Linked DNA regions of Homo sapiens: regions 2 and 3 are each linked to region 1. The links are contacts of gene promoters, found by promoter capture Hi-C in human tissues and cell types (Jung and others, 2019). All regions are on one chromosome and are shown on one strand. Each heading gives the region's core, a stretch centred on a gene start or on the middle of the fragment in contact. The rest is flanking DNA. Distances are from core to core; before and after follow the strand shown.

Evidence for each region. Contacts are between HindIII fragments. The study calls those that stand out against the background at their distance.
Region 2: a contact is called between a fragment that was not itself captured here and the fragment with the promoter of ZBTB32 in region 1, in 4 of the 25 tissues and cell types used here (dorsolateral prefrontal cortex, heart right ventricle, lymphoblastoid cells and 1 more).
Region 3: a fragment that was not itself captured here is called in contact with the fragment with the promoter of ZBTB32 in region 1 in 1 of the 25 tissues and cell types used here (spleen).

Annotation. Positions count from the first base shown.
Region 1 is chr19:35,702,638-35,706,606 of GRCh38, reverse strand. ZBTB32 (zinc finger and BTB domain containing 32) reads right to left here and starts at 2,049. Exons shown (of 7, transcript NM_014383.3): 1 at 1,984-2,049. The HindIII fragment of the contact is 13,873 bases long and covers 1-3,969 here.
Region 2 is chr19:35,971,525-35,975,121 of GRCh38, reverse strand. No RefSeq gene overlaps it. Among named protein-coding and RNA genes, the nearest start is that of SDHAF1, 22 kb to the left of the region's middle. RefSeq lists a silencer at 1,368-1,568. The HindIII fragment of the contact is 9,546 bases long and covers 1-3,597 here.
Region 3 is chr19:35,432,052-35,435,611 of GRCh38, reverse strand. It overlaps LOC101927522 (a long non-coding RNA gene), which reads left to right and starts at 959. Exons shown (of 7, transcript NR_187751.1): 1 at 959-1,292; 2 at 1,774-2,023; 3 at 2,510-2,753. RefSeq lists an enhancer at 1,519-2,718. The HindIII fragment of the contact is 5,373 bases long and covers 1-3,560 here.

The DNA.
Region 1 (3,969 bases), core at 800-3,299:
CTGGGATTACAGGCATCTACCATGCCCGGCTAATTTTTTGCATTTTTAGTAGAGATGGGGTTTCACCACGTTGGCCAGGCTGGTCTTGAACTCCTGACCTCAGGTGATCCACCTGCCTCGGCCTCCCAAAGTGCTAGGATTACAGGTGTGAGCCACCACGCCCTGCCAAAAACCTGGGTGATTTCCTAAAGAGGAGAATATCTCACACACCTCTTCCTGTGCTCCACTACGATGTTCATCCTCCCCATGCACCTGCCCCGCACCTACAGCCTGATATCTTCATCTTCTAGGAATTATCAGAACAGGCATGGGAAAGAGTGGGACAGGGAGAATGAAAAGCTCCAGACATGACCCAATTCCAGTTTTTTTTTTTTTTTTGAGATGGAGTTTCGCTCTTGTTGCCCAGGCTGGAGTGCAATGGCACGATCTCGGCTCACCGCAACCTCCGCCTCCCAGGTACAAGCGATTCTCCTGCCTCAGCCTCCCTAGTAGCTGGGATTACAGGCATGTGCCACCACGCCCAGCTAATTTTGTATTTTTAGTAGAGATGGGGTTTCTCCATGTTGGTCATGCTGGTCTCAAACTTCTGACCTCAGGTAATCCGCCCGCCTTGGCCTCTCAAAGTGCTGGGATTATAGATGTGAGCCCCCACGCCTGGCCCTGCTTTTTTTTTTTTTTAATTAATTTTTTTTTTTTGAGACAGAGCATTGCTCTGTTGCCCAGGCTGGAGTGCAGTGGTGCGATCTCTGCTCACTGCAACCTCCGCCTCGTGGGTTCAAGGGATTCTCCTGCCTCAGACTCCTGAGTAGCTGGGATTACAGGCACCTGCCACCACACCTGGCTAATTTTTGTATTTTTAGTAGAGACAGGGTTTCACCATGTTGGTCAGGCTGGTCTCGAGCTCCTGACCTGGTGATCCACCCACCTCAGCCTCCCAAAGTGCTGGGATTACAGGTGTGAGCCACCACGCCTGGCCACCCAATCCCAGTTCTGTACAGAGCCACCACAAGGCAATAATACTTCATCCAGCGCAAACAGCTCGGCTGGGATTCAGAATCCTTCTCCCTAGAATCTCCAGAGGATTACTGGCCTAACCTCTTGGCCACATCATCCAACCTGGACTCCATACTGGGAAATCTGCCAAGAACATCTCAACCTGGAGTCCAGAACATTCACTCCCAGCCCAGGCTGGCTCCAAAGACCCCAGGAAACCTTCATGTGCACACTAGTTTCATCTCTTGGCCAGTGACTTCCTACATAACTTTTTTTTTCTTTTCATTTTTTTTCTTGAGACAGGGTCTCATTCTGTCGCCCAGGCTGGAGTGCAATGGCGTGATCTCAGCTCACTGCAACGTTCATCTCCTGAGTTCAATGAGTTCAAGCGATTCTCCTGCCTCAGCTTTCTGAGTAGCTGGGATTACGGACGTGTGCCACCACGCCCAGGTAATTTTTTTTAGAAACCCCGTAGAGACAGGGTTTCTCCATGTTGGCCAGGCTGGTCTCAAACTCCTGACCTCAAATGATCCACCTGCCTCAGCCTCCCAAAGTGCTGGGATTACAGGCGTGAGCCACCGCGCCCAGCCCCTGCATAACCTTTGGAGATCCACAGGCCTCTCCTTTCAGTCACCGGATCCAGGCTCAGTCCAGAGACCCTTGATAAGCTCTCATTGTCCGGAGGCCATACCTCATGCAGAGTTAAGGACCTCCAACTTCCCCACAACACCCTTCCTACTCAGGCTGGCCTCGGGGGCCGTGGACCAACTCAGAGAGCAAGCTGGCTTAGCCTCTGCCAAACCTAGGCCTAAAGGTGGCCAGGAGGCTGCATTTCCAGCCTCTCAAAGGCAGAGGAAAGCCCCAAGGGCTAAAGCCCTCAACCCGCACTTCCCAATCATCAACGAGGTCCAGTCAAGCCCCCATACCCCAGATTTGCCTGGGCCGGGCCCAAGCCCAAGAAAGTAAAGTAAGAAAAACTATGGCACTCACCGGCCCAGACCCTGTTCCTCCTTCCCTTTCAGCCTCACATACACCCAGGACGGCTTAAGGCCGAGTGACCGTTAAAAGTGGGGAATGGAGCGAGGCCAGGGACGCAACGCTCCCGCACGTGGTCACCCCTGGATCCTGAGGCGGACGCTGATTGGCTGCAGCGCGGGCCGCATTCTCCCGCTCAGGCCAGCTGAGCACGCTGGGCAGCCTGGGAGGCACCTAGGACAGCGCCACTCCCGCGCGTCTGCCTCGGACCCGCAGCTGATTGGCTGTGAAGGGGCAGAGCCTTGAGTCTCATTGGTCCATAGGCTTCAGGCCTCTTAGGCTGAGATTTCATTGATTTCCAGCCGGGCCCCAGCGTTGATCTGCTGTGGAGTCTGCCTTTTCCCACTCTCTCCACGAAGAGACTGGACCCTGATTCTCCTTCACCTGAACAGCCCTGGAGGCTCCCTCAGCAAGTGCTCAGGAGTACTACTGTCCTTTTTTTTTTTTTTTTTTTTGAGACAGAGTCTCGCTCTGTCGCCCAGGCTGGAGTGCAGTGGCGCGATCTCTGCTCACTGCAAGCTCCGACTCCCGGGCTCACACCATTCTCCTGCCTTAGCCTCCCAAGTAGCTGGGACTACAGGCGCCCGCCATCACGCCCGGCTAATTTTTTGTACATTTAGTAGAGATGGGGTTTCACCATGTTAGCCAGGATGGTCTCGATCTCCTGACCTCGTGATCCACTCGCCTCGGCCTCCCAAAGTGCTGGGATTACAGGCGTGAGCCACCACGCCCGGCTTTTTAAAAAATTATTATTTCATTTTTATTTTATGAACGGGGTCTCCCTCTGTTGCCGGTGCTGGGGTGCAATGGTGCAATCATAGCTCACTGCAGCCTCGAACTCCTGGGCTCAAGCAATCCTTCCACCTGGGCCTCCCAAAATTCTGGAACTACAGCCGTGAGACACCGTGCCTGACCTGCCTTTCTTGCTTCTATTTTGCCACCCTAAGTAGCTCCCATTTGCAAACCCTGTCACCTTTCTCTCAACCCTTTACCATCTGTGAGGTGTGTAGGGGGTGTGTAGGCTGCCGCCACACCTGATTGGCTGGGAGGCCCGTAAGAGCAAGCCAAGGCCAGGCACGGTGGCTCATGCCCGTAATCCCAGGGCTTTGAGAGGTCCAGGTGGTAGTAGGATCGCTTGAGCCCAGGAGGTCGAGGCTGCAGTGAGCTATGATCACACCACTGCACTGCAGCCTGGGCGACACAGTGAGGCCCTGTCTCTAATAAATAAATAAAAATAAAATAAAAGAGCCAGCCAGGCAGGGCACGGTGGCTCACGCCTGAAAACCCAGCACTTTGGGAGGCCGAGGAGGGCGGATCACCTGGGGTCAGGAGTTCGAGATCAGCATGACCAACATGGTGAAACCCCGTCTCTACTAAAAATACAAAAATTAGCTGAGCGTGGTGGCGGGCGCCTGTAATTCCAGCTACTCGGCAGGCTGAGGCAGGGGAATCGCTTGAACCCCGGGAGGCGGAGATTGCAGGGAGCCTATATCGCGCCACTGCACTCCAGCCTGGGAGACAGAGCGAGACGGCGTCTCAAAAAAAAAAAGAGCCAGCCAGGCTTCGGTGCCTGTGAACAGCTCCCTTTTCTCTCTTGTCCCACTCCACCACGATTGCTGGCACAGCTCACTCTGCCTCGCCTGGAAGCCTGGAAGTGTACAGGGACAGGAAAGACACAAGAGGGGGGCAGTGCCTTGCCCCGTGATTGGCAGCGTGACACTTGCACTTCCAATTCCCACTGCCACCTCGACTGTATGCTCAGCCAGGAGTAACTGCGCGCGGACGTGTCAGCACTCCCACCTCCAACCATACCGCAGAGGGAACGGCCGATTGCGCTGCCCCAACATTAACTGGCCCGGGGGTTAGACTCCCTCCAGCAGGGTTTCCCCCTGGGCAGGGCTTCGGGGCTAACAAGCTGCGAGCTCGCCCCTCGCCAGTCTC
Region 2 (3,597 bases), core at 441-2,940, 270 kb before region 1:
CTGTGGGGGGTCTCTGGACAGGATAAGCCACATGGCTCATAGTGATTGTTTTCGGGGCACTCAATAGCTGCAGGGGCAGGAGTGGGGATGGAGAAAGACAGGAAGGGAAAGGTATTCACACCAGGACTCCCAGGTCTGGTTTCCAAGACCCAAGCATTTGGCCACCCCTATAGTGCAAATGTCCCTGCTCTCAGCTTCCAGGAATCCCTACCAACATCCTGTGGTCCTCACCCTCTAGAATGGAGCTCTCCAGGCAACAGACCCAGCAATCCCTGCCTCACAGAGTAAAGAAGTCTCTGTGCTAAGAAACCAGAAGTCCACTCCCCAGAACATAGAAGTCTGGCTCTGGGACAGGCGTAGTGGCTCACATCTGTAATCCCAGCATTTTGGGAGGCCAAGGTGGGAGGATCACTTGAGCTCAGGAATTAGAGACCAGCCTGGGCAACATAGGAAGACCTCATCTTTACAAAAAAAATTAAAAAATTATCTGGGCATAGTGGCACATGCCCGTGGTCCCAGATACTTGGGAAGCTGAGGAGGGAGGATGGCTTGAGCCTGGGAGGTTGAGGCTGCAGTGAGCTATGATAGTACCACTGCACTCCAGCCTTGGCAACAGAGTGATACCCTGTCTAAATAAACAACAGAGTGACATCCTGTCTAAATAAATAAATAAGTCTGGCTCTGGGACTCAGAGCGCTCACCCCAGATACTGGAGTTGTCACCACCTAGGTGTTCTAGTCTCTAGAACTTGAGAACCCAGCAGTCCCAGCCCTATAGCCAAGTTGTTCCCATGCCCAGGACCCAGAAGCCCTGGCCCCAGACCCAAAGAGCCCTGTCTCTGGGCCCTAGAATTATTTTCCCCGCACCCCCCAACTCAGCAGTCTTGCCCCCAGGACCCAGAGGCTGTCCCCTTCCAGGGACCCTACACCCTTGCCCCAGGAATCAGCCTCCAGAACTAAGGAGTGTCATTCCTAAGTCCCAGAATCCCCTTTACCCAGCAGCCTATAACCCTTTCCCTTGAAGGGTCACTCACGGCAGCCAGCCCAGAAGCTCGAGGGCTCAGTGTTGACACTGAGGCCTGACAGGGTGTACACAGACATGGAAGCACTCCCAAAGCGTAGGCAGGGAGCTGGGGAAGGGGCATATCCAGGCACGGCACTGGCCTCGAAGGGTGTAGGTGTCACACTTGGTGGCAGTGGCTAAGGGGCCCCTTTGGGGCTACAGGGACAGCACAGGGCCCCCAGTCTCCTGTGGGGACTAAGGCTTGGCTCAGGGTATCAGGTGGCTGCGGGGCCCAAATGCACGAAGACCAGTGGATCTGGACTGCCCATGTCATGGTCCTGCCTGAATGAAGTCACTGCACAGTCTGCCTTGTGTGAGTGGCAACCTTCAGCCACGTGCAGTGACGTGTGTGCTGCCGGTTGTAAAAGAGATGCAGTGTGGGCGGTTCTTGCTCCAGACCTGCCTCTGCCCATGGTTCTGAGGTGTGGAAGTACAACCATAGCCATCTGTCGCCCAGGATAACTGACAGCCCCAGCTGCTGTGGGTTCCCCTGCAGGAGTGACCAAGAGCTGGGGTCTTCAGAGGGGCTGAATTCCTGAGCATCGGGGAGGGGTGGAGGATAAGGAGGTTGAGGGGGTTGGATTCTGGGATATTGAGAGTGGGGCCTTTGCAGATCTAGGATGCCCCACCCTCGTCTACTAACCAAGAATCTTTCTTTTTCTTCTTCTTCTTCTTTTTTTTTTTTTCGAGACAGAGTCTCACCCTGCCGCCCAGGTTGGAGTGCAGTGGCACAGTCTCGGCTCACTGCAAGCTCCGTCTCCTGGGTTCACGCCATTCTCCTGTCTCAGCCTCCCCAGTAGCTGGGACTACAGGCGCCTGCCACCACGCCCCGTAATTTTTTGTATTTTTAGTAGAGACAGGGTTTCACTGTGCTAGCCAGGATGGTCTCGATCTCCTGACCTTGTGATCCGCCCACCTTGGCCTCCCAAAGTGCTGTGATTACAGGTGTGAGCCACCGTGCCCAGCTAACCAAGAATCTTTCTGTGTGTGTGTGTGTGTGTGTGTGTGTGTGTGTGTGTGTGTGTGTGTGTGTGTGTTTAAGTAGAGACGAGGTTTCGTCATGTTGCCCAGGCTGGTCTGGAACTCCTGAGCTCAAGCAGTCTGCCCACCTTGGCCTCCTAAAGTGCTGGGATTGTAGATGTGAGCCACCATGCCCAGCCTCTATCCGGGAATCTTTTTTTTTTTTTTTTTTTTTTTTGAGACAGAGTCTCGCTCTGTCTCCCAGGCTGGAATGCAGTGGCGAGATCTTGGCTCACTGCAACCTCCACCTCCCAGGTTCAAGCAATTCTGCTCTCTCAGCCTCCTGAGTAGCTGGGATTACAGGCGTGCACTACCATGCCAAGCTAATTTTTGTAGTTTTAGTAGAGACAGGGTTTCACCATGTTGGTCAGGCTGGTTTTGAACTCCTGACCTCGTGATCCGCCCGCCTTGGCCTCCCAAAGTGTTGGGATTACAGGCGTGAGCCACTGTGCCCGGCCTTCTTTTTTTTTTTTTTTAAACTGGGAGTCTTGATTTCAATATCCAGATTTGTCCTAACACAATACTTGCAAGTCCTCTTCTCAGGAATCTAGATGAGTAATCCTACCAAGGAGCCAGGTGTGCCCACCTCATCCAGTAAACAGGAGAGCCTTCAGACAGGACCCAAGGGCTTCCCCCATTACCAAGAGCCTCCACCTGTCCTTCCAGATCAAGGGGTACCTCCTTTCTCCCAGTCCATGATTTCCTTATTTTGCCTCACTTGGTGGTTTCCAGCCCACATTTCTCCTGCGTTCACTGCCCCACCCTGGTCCAAGCCCCATTGTCTCCTGCCGGGACTACTGCAGCAGCCTCCTCACTGTTGTTCCTCCAGGCCTCATTCCTTCACAAGCCCTGTAATCTGTTCTCAACTGGCAGCCACAGGGATGTTGTTAGTGTCTGATATAGTTTGGCTATTTGTCCCTGCCCAAATCTTGGCAGGGCGCAGTGGCTCACGCCTGTAATCCCAGCACTTTGGGAGGCTGAGGCAGGTGGATCACCTGAGGTCAAGAGTTCCAGACCAGCCTGGCCAACATAGTGAAACCCCGTGTCTACTAAAAACACAAAAATTATCCGAGTGTGGTGGCATGTGCCTGTAGTCCCAGGCTACTTGGGAGGCTGAGGCAGGACAATTGCTTGAACCTGGGAGGCAGAGGTTGCAGTGAGCCAAGATCTCACCACTGCACTCCAGCCTGGGCAACAGAGTGAGACTCAGTCTCAAAAAAAAAAAAAAAATTCTAAAATTCCAATTAATTGAGGAAGGAACACAGGAGTGTCAAGTCCTTGGGAAAAGAGGGATCATGTTGGTGAGAGTATAAGTCTGGAGCCCTGAGTATCTGAAGGTTCTGGATACCTGGGGTGGGGGCTACTGGATGCTGGGGAGCCTTAAGAGCACTGGGGGGCATCCTGACCCCTGAGTGGCAGGGCAAACTCCCAGGCGGTGTGGAGGCAGGTATGCAGCATCATGGCTTCACGTCTCGGGTCCTAGCTTTGCATATTTTCTGTGCTTTCCATATATTA
Region 3 (3,560 bases), core at 844-3,343, 270 kb after region 1:
AGGAAAATGATAGCTTTTCTGGAAGCCCTACCCAGCAGATGTGTACTTATTTCCAACTGGCTGACATTGTATCTCATGGCAATTCCTAGCCGCAAGAGAGTTTGGGCAAATGAGTATTAATTGGGCACTTCCCGAACCTAACAAAATTGGGACCCTGTTGGCAAGGAAAAAGGGGAGAGTTCCAAAATTATACAGATCTTGAATAGCAAATATGGGGAGCAAAACCAATTATAAGCCTAAAATATCTATGGTAGCCATAGGAAGATGTGGGATTTTAGAGGGGGCTTTTATCAATTGTGTTATTAACAGGTAACATACATACAAAAAGGTGAGCTCAACTTAGGGATACAGCTGGATGCATGTTAACATATCTGTACATTTGTGTATGACCACCCAGGTTGAGATGCAGGCCATTTTCAGCACCCTAGAGGCCCTTTTATTCCCTCTCAGTCAGCAAACCTTCCACTCCTAAGATAACCACTTTTCCAGCTTCTACCTCTTTTTTTTATCTATTTATTTTATTTATTTATTTATTTATTTATTTTTGTGAGACAGGGTCTCTGTAGAGTGAGTGCTCATATGAGCACTCCCAGGCTGGAGTGCAGTGGTGCGATCTTGGCTCACTACAACCTCTGCCTCCCGGTTTCAAGCAATTCTTCTGCTTCTGCCTCCCGAGTAGCTGGGGTTACAGGCGCATGCCAACACACCCAGCTAATTTTTATATTTTTAGTAGAGATGGGGTTTCGCCATGTTGGACAGGCTGATCTCAAACTCCTGACCTCAAGTGATCTGCCCACCTCCGCCTCCCAAAGTGCTGGGATTACAGGCATGAGCCACCATGCTCGGCCTTGTTTCTATTTTCTTTGACACAAGCACTGTTTATCTTCCAGTGTAAGAACGCAATCAACCATAGCACTGTGGGATAGCAGCCAGGAGGCTGGCTGTATCCTGCTGCAGCAGCCACCACACATGGAGGGCGGAGGGACAGCCACCCTGTTGTGTAGCTCGGAGCAGCTGTGTCCTTCAGTGCAGGTCCAGCCAAGAGCCGTGGGCCACAGATGACGCTGGTGGGGAAGCAGAGGGCAGACTAGGCAGAGGCAAGGCTTTCCTGTGCCCTGAGCTGTCAGAGATGGGCCAGGGCCTTCAGCTTCCTCGATAGGGCAGAAGTGACCACGCTGGCTCCATTCAGCAAAGGACGTGGACGGAGCTGCCGGGCTTGTCTGAGAGGAGGAGAAATGTGGAATTGAGTGAGGCTCTCTAAGAAGGTTCTGCTGGAGTTGAGAAAAATTAGGGTGAGGCACCTCCCCGATTTTATGTCCTTTTTCCTGGGTCCAGCCTCCTGAACAGCTACCATTCGCTTCTGTGAGACACCTGTCGGTGCCTCCTTTTCCAGCCCTTAATGGAACGGTGAGTGAGGTTCCCTGACTGGGGTGGAGTCTGCTTGTGAGTTTCCCCATCCCATGTCTCTCTGACTCCTGCTCCAACTCCTTACTTCGCCAGTTCCTCTCCCAGCCACCTCAGACTTCCCATACCACCCTCCCTGGACAGGAAGCGTTTTTACAGGAGTTTGAAGCTTCAGGAGTGCCCTCCGGCCACATGAAGACAAGGCGCTAACAAACATGGCGTTCTGCAAATTGCACCATCGCCAACTCCTGTCTTACTCTCACAGAGGTCTCTTGGGCTCTTCTGAGAAGGGTGAATGAACTTGGTTGGAGGGAAGAGAGGGGTTTGGTGGCTCTTAGTAAAATTGCTTCACGCAGTGACCTTTGGCAGTTTAGGATAATAACCTGTGCAGAGAGAGGGTCTCCTGTCCTGAAGTCACAGCCCGGATCTCCAGGCTGGCTCTGCTGCCTCTGAATGATTTGTGGGTCACACACGCCAACAGCATCGCCAAGGGCTGACATCAGCCTGCTTGAGCCACGGAAACTGAATGGGCAAGGATGAGTTCCCCAGCACAGAGGGAGGCATCCTCTGTCAAGACCATCTGCGCATGTGCTGTGCAGTCTCCAGTCTGCACTGTGAGGTTAGTACTTCTTCCTCTCTCTAGAAAGTGTAATGGGGGCCAGGCATGATGGCCCACACCTGTAATCCTAGCACTTTGCGAGGCTGAGGTGGGCGGATTGCCTGAGCTCAGGAGTTTGAGACCACCCTGGGCAACATGGTGAAACCCTGTCTGTACTAAAATACAAAAAAATTTAGCTGGGTGTGGTGGCGGGCATGTGTAATCCCAGTGACTCAGGAGGCTGAGGCAGGAGAATCGCTTGAACCCGGGAGGCAAAGGTTGCAGTGAGCCGAGATCATGCCACTGTACTCTAGCCTGGGCAAAAGAGCGAGACTGGCTCAAAAGAAAGCATAACAGAATACTCATAACTGACAGTGACGTTGTAACAGCTTACCTTATATCCTCTCATTTCTTTGTTTACTTAAACTTCCAAAGCCTAGTTTTTTCAGTATTACCAGGAACCATGGACTTACATTTCTTGCCTCTTGGTGTGTTGCCACATCCCAGCAGTGTGTCTCAACGGCTTTTGAGAACTGCTTCGAGAGGGGACCAGATGCGCAGAGACAAGCTTCCAGCCTGGCTAGGGACGGACCCTCTGGGGATGCTCCTCTCTGGCCGGGCAGCAGTAGAAGCACCTGCCTCCATCCACATCCAGACGCCATTCCCTTTTCTTCACCGCTGCTTCCCATCAGATGGTCCCCAGGAGTGGCAACCTCCCACTTGGTCTCGCAGGAGTCCCAGTGCTTCTCAGGTGTGTGTGCCACATCCCTCTTCTCTGAACACACAGTGGTCAGGGTGCCTGCACAGGGAAGGGCACCACAGTCCACCCTGGGAAAGGTCTTCAGTCTTCGGGAAAGAGCCTGTAAGCACCTTGACTGCTCTTCTTCTCTAGGGCAGAGAGCTTTCTTATCCACAGGGGTCCTTAGTCAGAGAGAGGGAGCGCACTCGGTGAGCTCTTTCAGAGGCAGCAGAGCCCTCTGCCTCTCCCCAAATCCCTGCTCCTACAAGTCGAATTAATCTCTCCTAGAAATCCAAGTCCTAACTTCTTCCAGGCGTCTTTTTACATCCACTGTTTGCATAGCCCACCCTTTCTTCTTTGGAGGATCCCCTCAGGTAACTTCCATCTGCTCCTCAGTGTGTCTTACCCCTTCCTTCTGTTCTTTCTTCACCTCCCTCCCTCTCCACCTCCACACTGGACTATATCAAATTCCTGTTCATTTTTTAGCATGGCCCAGTCAAAGCAGGTTAATCTCTCAGTCAGCAGAGGACATTTCACAAAAATTGGGGCCGCTAAATCACAAAAATATTCTCTAAGTCCAGGGCCAGCCCAGAAAAAATGCCCCAAGTCCAGGCAGCCCCCCAGAGTCTGCCGCCGTCTGGAAAATCCGGCTCAGCTCTTGCTCCTGCACATCCTCTCCTTTCCAGTGCTCTGTGTCTGGTCCCTGTCCCACCTCCTCTCCTTTCCCCAGTGTCTTCTGTCTGAATTCTGTGGGCCCAGGACAGCCCCAGCCTTCTCAAAGTCACCTGCATGTCTCTTGGATTAGGCAGCTGAGTGCAA